Regions from separate parts of the Homo sapiens genome. Here all the other regions are linked to region 2. Evidence: promoter capture Hi-C in human tissues and cell types (Jung and others, 2019). All regions are on one chromosome and are shown on one strand. The core of a region is centred on a gene start or on the middle of the fragment in contact, and the rest is flanking DNA. Distances in the headings are between cores, read along the strand shown.

Region 1 (4,376 bases), core at 1,864-4,363, 310 kb after region 2:
GCAGAACGTCAAAGAGAGGGAGACAGAGACAGAGTAAACTCACACTTTTAAAAGAAACCAACTCATGTGATAAACCCACTCCTGTGATAACAGCATGGATCCATCCATGAGGGTAATGCCCTCACGACCTAACACCTTTTAAAGGTCCCACCTCCCAATACCTCCAGGTCTCCAACAAGTGAACTTTGTGGGACACATTCAAATCATAGCATTTCACCCCTGGGCCCCCAAAGGTATGTCCTTCACACATGCAAAATTCATTTCCTCCCTTCCAGTAGCCCCCACATTGTAACTCATTCTAGCACCAACTTAAAAATCCAAACTCCAGAGTCTCATCCAAGTCAGATATGGATAAGACTCAAGGCACAATTCATCCTGAGGCAAATTCTCCAGCCATGAGCCTGTGGAATCAAAACAAGTTACCCACTTCCGAAATTCAGTGGTGGGACAGACATATGAAAGACATTTCCATTCCTGGGAAAAATAGGCAAGAAAAGAGGGGCAATTGGCCTTAAGTAAGTCCAAAACCCAGCAGGGCAAACCATATTAAATCCTAAGGGTTGAGAATAATCTTTGACTCCATGTCCCACCTTCTAGACCCACTGGGTCAGGGATTGGGCCCCCAATTTCCCAGGCAGCCTCACCTCCACAGCTTTGCTTGTCTCAGTTCACTCCTGAGCAGCTCTCACAGGTTGGAGTTTTGTGCCTATAGATCTCCCAGACTGGTTTTGTGAGGCAGCACAGGGCAGTGAATGCTGAGGTCTTTCAGGCACCTCTCTGGAAGCTTTGACCTTAAGGTCCTAACTTGCGTAACTTCTGGTCCTAACTCCATGATCTCGGAAATATCTTCCAGGTCATTCTCCCTTTGTCTTATGAATAGAACTTGGCTTCCTTCTAGCCAGATTAATATTTTCAGCAAATGACCACTTGGCCAAACCCTTCTTATTCTCTCTCGAACATGCTTTTTTATTCTTTATATGGCCAGGCTGAGAGTTCTCCAAATTTTTCTATTAGTCTTCACTTTTCATTATAAATTCCATCTTTAAATCATTTCTCTCTCCTCAACATTTTACTATATGTGCTTGAAAGAAGCCATGGAGCCCACTGAATGTTTTGCTGCTGAGATGTCTCTTCCATCAGATATCGTAGTTCACCTCTCTTAAATTCTGCCTTCCATAAAGCCAAAGGGCATGAACAGAATTCTGCCAAGTTTTTTTGCCACTTCATAACAAGGATGATCCTTACTCCAGTTTCCAATAAGACATTTCTCTTTTCCACCTGAGACCTCATCAGAATGGCGTTTACTCTCTATATGTCTACCAACATTCTCATCAGGACCATAAAAGTAATCTCTAAGAAGTTGCAGACTTTCCCTACAGTTATCCTCGCCTGAGACCTCAGTGGAATCACTCTTAATACAAAATTTGTGGCAATCTAGGCTTTTTCTAGCCTGCTCCTCCCATACCAATTTCCTGTCTTAGCCTGCTTTGTGCTGCTCTAACAAAATACCACAAACTGGGAAAATTATAAAGAAAGAAATTTATTCCTCAATTCTGGAGTCTGGGAAGTCCAATATAAAGGTGCCAGCATGTGGTAAGGGATTTCTTACTGTGTCATCTTATGGGAGAAGGGCAAAAAGAGAGAGAGAGAACGAGAATGGGGCTTAACTTGTCCTTGTATAAGGAATCAGCTCCTGTAATAACAAACCCACTACTCAATAATTGTGTTAAGCCATTTATGAGGGTTGTGCCTTCATGACCTAAACACTTCTTAAAGTTTCCACCTCCAAAAACCTCCACACTGGGGATCAAGCTTCTAACACATGAACTTTGGGGGACATATTCAAACCATAGCAGCCATGTATTTTACTAATTATAAAAAACAATAGTAACAACAACAATAATAAAAGGTATCATTTCTAGAACTCTTACTATATGCCTGGCTCTGGATAAAATGATTGACTTGCATTTGTGCATATATTAACTTAAGAAAATGCATGACAACCAATGAGCATATGAAAAGAAGCTCAATATCCCTGATCATTCAAGAAAAATTAATCAAAACCACAATGAGATATCATTGCACACCAGTCAGAATGACTATTATTAAAAAGTCGAAAAATAACAAATGCCAGTGAGGTTGTGGAGAAAAAGAAGTGCTTATACCCTATTGGTGGGAATGTAAAGTAGTTCAGCCATTGTGGAAGAAAATGTGGCAGTTCCTCAAAGATCTAAAGCCAGAACTACCATTCGACCCAGCAATCCCATTACTGGGTATATACCCAGAGGAATATAAATCATTCTGTTATAAAGACACATACATGCAAATGTTCATTGCAGTACTGTTCATAATAGCAAAGACATGGAATCAACCCAAATGCCCATCAATGATAGACTGGTAAGGAAAATGTGGTACATATACACCATGAAATACTATGCAGCCATAAAAAAGAATAAGATCATGTCCTTTTCAGGGATACGGATGGAGCTGGAGGCCATTATCTTTAGCAAACTAATACAGAAACTGAAAACCAAATACTGCCTGTTCTCACTTATAAGTGGGAGCTAAATTATGAGAACACGTGGACTCATAGAGGGGAACACCACACACTGAAGCCTCTTGGAGGGTGGAGGGTGGGAGGATGAAGAGGATCAGAAAAATAACTATTAGGTACTAGGCTTAATTCCTGGGTGATAAAATAATCTGTACAACAAACCCCCACAACACAAGCTTACTTATGAAACAAATCTGTGTTTGTACCCCTGAACTTAAAACGTGATTTCTGGGTGTGTCTGTGATGCTGTCTGAAAGAGATTAGCATTTAAATTGGTTGACTGAGAAAAGAAGATCATCCTCAACAATGTAGGTGGGTTTCCATTCATCTCTGGCCCTACTGCTGGGTCTGAGGACCATTCTTGGGACAGATGTAATTTAAAGCTGACACAGTGTTAAATGGTTGCATGAGAACCAGGTCTTGGGTGCTTTGGACTCAGATCTTCATCATCTCTTGGGGGAGCATAGTAGAGCTAGATATCAGAGTTCCATTCTACTGATTTTTTTTTTAACATCAATCATGTTATATCTAGTGAACATGGCTCCTTCCACCTCCATCTGCTTCTGTTCATGAGAACCAAACTAACTTTTCTCTGGTCTCTCTCTAAGGGTATGTGTTAGGGTGTGAGGGCAAGTGATTGTCTCCATTGATTTATTTCTTGTTATTTCATAGGCATAAGGAAGGGGGATCTAATTACTATTGGCTCAAGGAGCCATATTTAAGAAAGCAAACATTGGTTTTCTAAGTGAGTCATACAACTTGCATATAGTTAATTTTAGTTAATTTTTAAAAATTGAGGCAACTCATACCTGTTATTGAAATCCAACTATTTTCAATGAATACCAAGGTACTGTAGAAGAAAATTCCAGTTATATAGGATAATATCTGCTTTACTTTTTCTCATCCTAACAAGTTTTGATAATTATAAATGAAATTTAAATTCTGTTTTACTGTGAATCAAGAGTATAAAATTCTACTCTGGGCCTAGGTGATAAACAAAAGCTTTATTAGCACTTATTTGGAAAATTCAGATAGGGCAAGGTCTCTTTAAAATAATATTGGCGTCTGTTATTGAGCACTCAGCATGTGCAAAGCACAGTGCCAGGCATTTTTATACATTGTGCCATTTAACTAGCACAACAAAACTTCAAAGTGGTGGCATTACAGCCATTTAGAAGATTAAAAAGTTTTCAGTCCTTTAATTAAACGTAACAGTTTTGTAATGGCTACAATGTGAAAGAATGAAGCTAATAATTGTGTGCTGTTGTCATCTGAAATGCAACTGGACACTGTCACTAATTTTCTTATATATATCCACTCTTCCGTGATTTATTTGCTGTGTGTATGAATGTAATATGGCCCAGAAAAGAACCATGGCTCTCTGTTTTTATCTAAATTTCCTTTTCTTTTCTTTATATATTTTGAGAAATATATTTTTATTTAACTATTTAAAAATGAATCATCATTTTTCAGAAGCTAAAATACACAGATGGGTACAAACATCTGTGAGATGTTTTGAGATAGGGTCTTGCCCTGTCACCAAGGCTGGAGTGCAGTGGCACAACCATGGCTCAGTCCAGCCTCAGCTGCCTGGGCTCAAACAATCCTCCTCCTCCTGAGTACCTAGGATTTTAGGTACGCACCACCATGCCCAGCTATTTTCTTCTATGTTTTGTAGAAACAGAGTCTTGCTATGTTGCCTAGACTGGTCTGAAAGTCCTGATCTCAAACAATCCTCCCGCCTCAGCCTCCTAAAGTGCTGGGATTACAGGCATAAGCCACTATGTGCAGCTAACTAGATGGATTTTTATATCAAATTTGG
Region 2 (4,786 bases), core at 1,779-4,278:
TAAGCCATTGCACATAATGTGATTTAAAGTGTTGCTTAGATGAGAAAGAGAAACAATTATTGTTATGTGTTCATGCTTTGCTGCTGTTGGTTATGTAAGGGCTATTTTTACAAAGATGGGCACTGCAACATATCATATAATAGTGAGAATGTGAATCCAGCCTTAATATCCAGTGACAGGGATTGGTTAAATAGATTACGGAACAACCAAACAATAGAATAGTATACAATTGTAAAAACAAACTAACCAATAAACACTGAAGAGATCTAAATGAACTCATGAGAAAGTTTTCTAAACAATAAATTTTTCCAGTGAGTAAGACACAAATCTGAATATACAGTATGGTATAAGTGCTTGTAATAAAAGCATTATATATATTTATGTAGCAATATATATTTCAAAAAGTAGATTCCAAAGAGTAAAAGGTGGGGGTTTTGAGAAGGATAGAAGGGAGGAAAGATGAGTTAGGCTCTTACTATTTAGCTCTGTACATTTCGGTTCAGTGAGATTAGTTTTTGTTAGCTTAAGCATGTATGACTTTAAATGTAAGTATACTAAAAATGAGATACCATTTTACAACTGAAAGTTCAAGGACCACTTAGCAGGAATACTGGACCTGAAAGCCTGATGTGAGGCAGGACTGAGCAAAGCATGTTCAGGTGAAAACTTTAAATGGGAGTCTGAGTTTGAGGAAAGAAAATAGAGAGAGCCAAAGGGGGAACATGGTTCTATGTCCTCATTGTCAACCCTACTTAAGACATGTAATTTGAAGATAGTGATTCTCAAAATCAGAATTGCCTTCAAGAGCTTCTGTAAAACACAGGGTCACAGGGTCTTGATACTCTATACAAGAATATCTGAATAACAATTTTTAGAAATGTGTTCCAGGACAGGGCAATATTAACAGGTTTTCAGAGGATTCATTGGCACAATGAAGTTGGAGAACTGTAGCAGTTGGAGCCTTTGATGGATAATAAACTGGAATCGTACCTGTCATTGAATCCTAGATTACTGAGGAGACTGCCCCTGTGGAGGTCCTTGTGGGCGGCCCCCTTGGGGAGGTGGTCCCTGGGGCTTTCCAGGAGGAGGTGGGGGAGGACCTTGCTGATGGCCTCCCTGTTGGGGTGGTCCTTGTGGCCTTCCTCGAGGAGGACGGGGATGGCCTCCCTGTTGGGGTGGTCCTTGTGGCCTTCCTTGAGGAGGAGGGGGATGGCCTCCCTGTTGGGGTGGTCCTTGTGGCTTTCCCTGAGGAGGTGGTGGACCTTGTTGCTGCTGGCCTCCTTGTTGGGGTGGTCCTTGTGGCTTTCCCTGAGGAGGTGGTGGACCTTGTTGCTGCTGGCCTCCTTGTTGGGGTGGTCCCTGCTGAGGGCCATCATCCTGGTTCCCATCACCAGCAGAGGGTTGAGATTGCTGTCCTCCCAAAGGTGGTCCCTGACGCTCCTCATCTAGGAACTGCTCAGAGTCTCCTCCATCTGTGTGAGTTGAAACAAGAAGAGCTGAGCTCATGCTGGAAAACCCTCCTGTCTTCATACCTCTCTGTCTTCACCACACGGCCGGCCCCTCTCTGCCTGACCTGCCTCTCAACTCCCAACCTCCCCCCTTCCCAAGGCTTCCTAATTAGAACTCCTCTTAATCCACATAAGGGTGATGAAAAATTGAATTTCTTTACTCATGGTCCCCAGAATCAAGGTTGGGAGAAAACTGTTTGTATCTTTGGGGCATTGGTATTAGCCAATTCCTGACAAGAAAATGGTGATAAGAAGACACTGGAGAACTCATCAATTTTTCAGGGAAAAATGGAGACAGAGTTTACTGAGAATTTATTGGGATTTACCTGATATTACGAGGGGAACATCTTCCTGGCTGACATCTAGAAAAGAAGTACAGGATGATGGGAAAAGTTACTTCCTGAATCATTCAAGGCTCATAGTGTTCTACGAGGATAAAGGACCTCTGATCACACCCTGTGCATCCCCTTTGTGATCTCATCAGCCACTCTCTGATGCTACTGGAAGTGGAAGAAGATGTAAGGGAAAGCAGTATTGTTACTACACTGAGCGTCAACCAGGAACTCAACATAGAAGGGCCCCTGTTTGTCCTCTTTTGATTCCCCAAGCCTTGATGAGGAATGAAGATACAATAGGTCTTCTGATCCTCGGCATGAAAATTCTGCAGTCCCATCTGTTTTCTCATCCTCCTCTCTTCCCTCCACTTTCCTCCTCTATAGCATTTGCCTGTAAACCCTTAGCGCTTATTTAGTTAAACTGCTCTGAGTATTTCAATGACATATTTGGGGATTCTTCTGCCCTCTTTCATCTGTAAATATGTTGTTTATGTTTGCAAGCCTTCTCAACAGGAGCCACCAGACATAGCCACTTGGATATAATCTTACGCATGCCATTCCCAGCACATTGAAATACTACATTCAGGAGACAGAAAAATGACAATGTTTCACTCTGGTTATTCTCTAACTCTATGTAGACAGAGACAAGTGTTTACCCAATTCTCTGCCTCGGCAGTAGCTCTGACATGTGTTTATCTCCTTCATTAATGCTCATCCACTGTACAGCAAGGCCACCATCATCCCTGTCTACTGGGATCAGTACAGGATCTTCACAGCTGTACTTCCCTGAATCTGTCTTGCATTCTCCACATCCTTCACAGCAGTCCCATGTCTCTATATAATGCAAATCTCACTCTCTCACACCCCTAGTACGAATTCTTTATTGGATTCTATTTGTGCAACAAATAAACTATGAGGCCTTGATGAGGAATGGAGGTACAATAGATCTTCTGATCCTCAGCATGAGAACTCTGCAGTCCCATCTGTTTTCTCATCCTCCTCTCTTCCCTCCACTTTCCTCCTCTATAGCATTTGCCTGTAAACCCCAATCAGAGTCACAATATCTTCCCCCAATTCATCTTACCTTCATTTAAATCCTGAGCTGAGCTGAAGGCCAGCAGGGCCACTGACAGCAGAATCAGAAGCATCTTGCAGGAGGCTCTGGTGTCACTCCCAACTTTGTGCTGGGAGAAACGTGTCAGCTCCCTTTATAAAGACAAGCAGGACAATGGTGCATTTGAGCTCCCTACCAGGTGGGCCTCCTCGCCTCAGAGACTGGCTTCTGCTTTGCTTACTTCAGGTCAAGTGTATCCCTCATTTCTTTTGGGACTCTAGCTCAGCAGGAAGGGTTGGGTAGGATATTGTTTGTGTCTAATTCCTAAAAGGCACAACTATGACTTGGACAAATGTTTTGACGGAACTGTGTCCAAGCAGTCGGCACAGTGTCAGGATTGAACTTTAGACATCTTTTGGTTTTCAATCTGTTTGGAAAGACTGCTATTCTGCTTTTCACTGTGCTTTTCATTTCTGTGTATGTGAGTTTGTGTGGGTGTGTCGGGGGGTGGACACTGATCCTACAGCTAACAGTGAAGATGGTCAATATCTCTGACTGTTTTGATAGCCTCTTTCCATCTCTCATGATGTGTGTGCGTGGATATTTTCACATTTAGCTAAATTTTTCATGTAACAGAGATGGTCTTGCTTATCTGTGAGATGTGTGAGGACAGCACACTCCCAGGCACACATATATGAGAGAAAGGTGCTGGCAGCCTGCTCAGGCTACAAGAATTGTCCAAACTTCTGTGAATCTCACTACACTCAGGCAAGCCTTGGTGCTATACAACACAGGCAAGCTAAAATATTTGTATTTTAAAAATATCTTTAGGGTTTATTAAAGCAAAACTGAACTCAGAAACCACCAAGGAATTTCTAGACCTGAACAAACTGAATATATGGTTCCCTAAGTGAGCCACACGATGTCATATAGCTAAGACCTCCACTTTCTCCAGAATATTCCATAGAATTCATCCTCTACTTTATTTCTTCTAATAAATATTGTAATTGTCATCACTGATAATTAAATGGCCACAATTATACATTCATCTAAGATAATTTGTAATACCTGTCCAAGCCTCAATTGCCTTGATTGGTCTTCTGCTTTTACTCAGTAATTATGTCACCTGTTTCATCAGAGTGTTCTTTCTCACCAAGGATTTTTATCTGTAATATTCCAATACTCATTCTTTCTCATTCTTTTTCTCGCACTTATTTGTTGAAATTTTGTATTCTGAGTCTACCTTGCCATGTTTACTTTTCGTCCTATATCTTTTTTTTTCTCCCTACAAAGGTGTCCTTTATTTATCCTTCTAAGTAAAGGTGTGTGGTACTCCTCACTACCTTTACTTTCATTTTTGTCTGTATAATTTGACAATAAAAAATTAAGTTTCCAAAAAGCCCTGTCAGGGTCCTGGTTTGGTAGCTCTCTCCTCAGCTGCTGATTGCTCCAAAAATTAAGTTTCCAAAAAGCCCTGTCAGAGTCCTGGTTTTGTCGCTCTCTCCTCAGCTGCTGATTGCTCTGTGATACCTAGAAATTCCCTGCTCATCAATTCATAAAATATACTACTCAGAATCACCAGCTGCACTTTCCATTTCAGACCTTGAGTAGGTCTTGTGTAATTTTTCACTTTTTGTGCATGGTTAGTCTTTATTTGAGGATAGCTTGGTTGGAGGCATGGCTGAGAAGCCAGGTGACAGAAAATCATAAAGACAAGGCCCTAGACAGGTGTGCATGAGTGGATCCTGTGCTGGGCATATGAGGGTCTGGTATGGCTCTTCTGAAAAGTTGCAGATAATAATACAAGAAGGCTTCCTAGTAGATTAGATTTTGCTACAGACGACATTGTTCTTGTAAGGGACCCAGGCAGATTGGTATTTTCCCTGGAA
Region 3 (4,409 bases), core at 1,461-3,960, 290 kb after region 2:
TTAAGGGCATACTTAATTATGGTTACAAAGTGGAGTGCAAATGTTATTTACCATGTTTTAAAAATACAGCCGGAAAATACAAGTGGGAATGTTGAAGGAGGGCGGGGGAAGTAAATGGAATGGGGGTTATGTCCTTATAAAGTGGAAACTTGAAAGGTACTGTCTGTTGTTGAGTGGGGAAAGACATTTTTATTACTTACAGGGTAGCCATAAAGTTTCTAAAACGGTAATATATTAAAGAGGGAGAGTGGTAGGGGAGAACAGTATGAAGTCAACAGGAAATGGCTAAAGATGGAGAGCTCAGGTAGAATAGTTTAAAAAATGAAAATTGATAGAGTACCTGGTGTATTTGAATACAGCCTAGAGAGCTTTCATTTTCCAAAGAGTGTGGGGATAAATTAGTGAATGCATATTTTTCAAAATTAAGAAAACAGAACATATAATTTTGAACGCTGAGAAAAATAAAAATTTAAAAACTACACTGTATACACGGTATACCTCAACTGTGAATAATAGTAGTCATGTAAAGTCAGTCATAATTATGTAAATACTGAATACTGATTTTACAACAAATGATTCTATAACGCTGGGAGGATGGGAGAAAAGAGATGTGTGTGTGTGTAATGGTGGTGAGCCAATCAAGATCTGATATAGAAAAATGCAGAAAAAGGAGTATACACATGTTTTCTTCGGATTAAAAAAACTAATAATAAATCACCAAGAGTGGTAAAGTTTTAAATCAAGATCTGATATAGAAAAGTGCAGAAAAAGTAGTATACGCATTTTTTTTTTCAGGAAAAAATTAACTAATAAACCACTAAGAGGGGTAAAGTGTTAAAATAGTTGCATTGTTCTATATTCCACTCATTGTGTCCAGCAAACAGTGTTCTATGGCTTTAAGTAGTAAGCATCTTGCCCCGTCCAACACCATGTCTGGCCTAGGGTAATTGTTCTTTCTAGTCTTTATTCTTTGTCTCCAGCCAAACTCCATTTGGGCACATTCTCCTATAGCCTTTTCTACCTGAAGATACTCTGTGTTTTAAAGCTAAGCTTAGGTGGCGCTTTTTCCATTAAATTTTTCCTGGATTCCACTGACCATATAGGAGCTCACTTCTTTTAATCCATAAGGCCATTTTCATAGGTTGCCTTATTTTTCCCTAATCGTGCATCAACTGTCTGTTTTATATACCCAAGACAGGTTTCCTAGACTGCGATAAGCCAAAACATTTTAGTCTAAAATATCAGAAGTGTAGTTTAATCAATGAAATAGTAATACCAAGGGATTTAGAATCGTGGACATCACTGTTTCCCAGAGCACTGATGTCCCAATTTGTAACACAAAAGACTGTCTAGTCTTAATCCTGAAATGGTGACAGAGTAGGATGCTCCATTTGGGTGACTATGTGAACATATTCCTATAACTTTTTTCCTCACATCAGTCATTTGTTAAACCGAAGATGAAGAAACAGACTTTGTATTTATTACATCCTCCAACATAATTGGCAGCTCTGTGAGGGAAGACACTATATCCTATTCAATTTTACACCCGGTAGTAACAGTATGTGTGTGTACTGTATATATACATATATATATACATACACATATATAAATTTAAGTAGTAACTATATATGTATATATGTATAGTTACTACTTACTATATATGTATACAGTATATAAGTATATATGTATAGTTACTACTTACAATATATGCATAAAGTTACAGCTTACATTTACCTCGTAATATATGTATATATATATATTAGGAGTTAAATGTATTAGGAGGTAAATGTAAACTCTGTGGTTTATCATTTATTCACAATTGCTCTTAATTCTTGGGGTATAGTTTGCCTCCTACATGATGCAATTCAGTGAAATTCCCAGGAGACAAAACAAGATTTTGACCTGAATAAACCACTTATTGTTGTAATTCACAAGTGAGTTTATTCTTCCTGGCACACTTCCAGGTAATATCCATTAGGCTAAGGATTTTGTTTGTTCACTGTTCTATCCCCAAGCCTAGAGCACTGCCCAGTGCGGAATAGCTAATAAATATTGTTGAATGGATAGATGAATGGCAATTTTGTTGGTATGCTCTACATAGTCAGCAGTCAATAAAGGAAACATATATTCGTTCCTGATAATAAGATGATTCACTTTATTGCCCATAAATTGGGCTTTTTCAGGCCATCATGCACGTTGATTGATCCAGAGATCCCTCAAGCATGAAAAAGCAGAGACATAGGTGGTATAGTTATTATCAATAGAGATAAGAAATGTAGCTGGCAAAAAAAAAAATGGGAAACGATGCGTTACAGCTTATTTTAACTATAAAAGGAAAACAGTGAACATAGCAACATATGTAACCTAAGGGATAGGGGAAAAGTTGTTTTTTTTTTTTTAATTCTGGGTAAAAATACATGTGATTACTTGACAAATAGCATATCATTACCATCAGCATCATTTTTAAAATATATTGAGTTTTTAATACCAGGAACTATGAAAAACTATTTATATACATGAGCTCCGTAATTCTCACATATACCCTGTGAGGAAAACATTTTTATCATTTTTCAGAGAAGCAAACCGGGATTTAGAGAGGTTAAGTAAATTCCTAAGGTCATGATAACCAACCAGACCTCAAATGAATCTCCAGTAATTCCTAAAGTTATATTTCATAAGGAGTTCAATTTTCTTAAATGTGTAGATAATTACAAATAATTCTGTTTCTCAAATTTCTGGACAGAAATATTACCTGGGTAATAGTTATTTTTTTTAACATAACTATTGAGGGTCTTTCATACTAAAATATAAATATTTAACATGATTTGATATGTAAGTTCAAGTATTTTATACTCTCTGCAGCCTTAAACCTATTGGCTTATTTTATTAGAGGGTTGGTGGGATTGAGGGATATGGGAGCAAAGGGAGAGAGAGGAAAGAACGTTGTCCTCAGAATGGAAGGGAAACACTTTCCTGTGCTACCCAGAGTAGAGATCAGACAATGTTAAATTTTGAAGCCATGTCTGTTCCTGTCCTGAGGATCCCTAACTAAATTTTGTTAGAAAATCTTGCAGTTTGCTTTTAATGGGAGATCTTTCTGGCAGGACATCAATAGCTTTTGATAGCGTCAAGAAGAAAATAAAGTTACATGCAGAAGCATAAAGGGGTAGGATGAAAGTTGAGGAATATAGGGACAAAAGATGAGGGAAAGGAATATCCTAATACTTGGAAGTTTGAGCATGGAAAGTAGTCTAAAGACGACTTGGGAAGTTCCAAGAAAATGAACCAAGAAAAGAACCTCTGCAAGAACTATGAGAATTCCCAACAATTGGGTTGGATTGATTCATATTAGTCTATTACTTGGGTTACCTTGAGTGTGGGGATTCTTCTTGCAGTTTTAACACTTGTACTATGGTCTGAATGTGCCCCCCAAAAATTCACATGTTGGCATTTAACCCCCAAAGTGATGATCTCAGGAGATGGGACCTTTGGGAGGTGATCAGGTCATAAAGATGAAACCCTCGTGAATGGGATTAGTGCCTTTATAAAGGAGACCCCAAAATAATTCCCTTACCCCTTTTGCCATGTAAGGTTATAGGGAAAAGTCATCTATGAACAAGGAAATGAACCCTCACCAGATACCAAATTTGTGAATGCCTGGATCTTGGACTTCCCAGCTTCTAGAACTATAAGAAATAAATTTCTGTTGTTCATAAGCACCCATTTTATGGTATTTTTTATAGCAGCCTGAACAAACTAGACTTAATAGGATTTGCTCAGCAGGATTACCACCAGGTCAAGTCATGAGATCTTTTCAAAATATAAGTAAACCTCCCCTTACCCCTACTCTCCACAAATACAAATTTCAGCAGTGCTCTTGGGACAACTAAAAGGCCCAAGGACCTTCCCAAAAGCCTACTACAAATGAAGAAACTATGGAAGTCTTAGTAGCTTAATTGCAGGACATCCCTGCCAGTTTCTATCCTGATTAGGGATCTGCAATGAACATTACAAAATCTTCACCATCTCCATGGCTTTCAACACCAAGCATATGGACTTAGCCACTGTAAAATAGTGGCATGCATCAATGAACAATAAAGAGAAATGGAGATCATTCATATTATTAGTGAGGGAAGTTGGGTACAACTTTTCATCAGCCAAAAAGAGGGAGAAAAAAATCACACCACCAAATAATGAAATACTGTAACTAAGATCATTGGCAGAGAATTAGAGATTATGTTCAGCAGATTAAAAAAAAAAAGAAAACAGCTGTGATCATGCCACTGCACTCCAGCCAGGGCTGCAGAGCAAGACCCTGTCTCAAAAAAACAAAAAGCCAAAAATACGAGATGCTTAAAAAAAGAACTGTTGTTCAAGAGATCATTTTCACTTTTTAATTGGTTTTTGAA

Evidence for each region. The method cuts DNA at HindIII sites, captures the fragments that hold promoters and counts their contacts. A contact is called where the count stands out against the background at its distance.
Region 1: a contact is called between a fragment that was not itself captured here and the fragment with the promoter of PRH1 in region 2, in 3 of the 25 tissues and cell types used here (H1 embryonic stem cells, mesenchymal stem cells and spleen).
Region 3: a fragment that was not itself captured here is called in contact with the fragment with the promoter of PRH1 in region 2 in 1 of the 25 tissues and cell types used here (spleen).

Annotation. Positions count from the first base shown.
Region 1 is chr12:11,190,545-11,194,920 of GRCh38, forward strand. All of the region lies in intron 1 of LOC107987435 (a long non-coding RNA gene), which reads left to right. Among named protein-coding and RNA genes, the nearest start is that of TAS2R42, 5.8 kb to the left of the region's middle. The HindIII fragment of the contact is 3,631 bases long and covers 1,299-4,376 here.
Region 2 is chr12:10,881,227-10,886,012 of GRCh38, forward strand. PRH1 (proline rich protein HaeIII subfamily 1) reads right to left here and starts at 3,029. Exons shown (of 4, transcript NM_001393989.1): 1 at 2,928-3,029; 2 at 1,835-1,870; 3 at 991-1,472. The coding sequence starts at 2,991. The coding sequence ends at 1,009. It overlaps PRH1-PRR4 (PRH1-PRR4 readthrough), which reads right to left. Exons shown (of 10, transcript NR_037918.2): 5 at 2,928-3,049; 6 at 1,835-1,870; 7 at 991-1,472. The HindIII fragment of the contact is 11,699 bases long and covers 1-4,786 here.
Region 3 is chr12:11,172,298-11,176,706 of GRCh38, forward strand. It overlaps SMIM10L1 (small integral membrane protein 10 like 1), which reads left to right. Exons shown (of 1, transcript NM_001271592.2): 1 at 1-3,719. Among named protein-coding and RNA genes, the nearest start is that of PRH1-PRR4, 2.9 kb to the left of the region's middle. The HindIII fragment of the contact is 4,439 bases long and covers 492-4,409 here.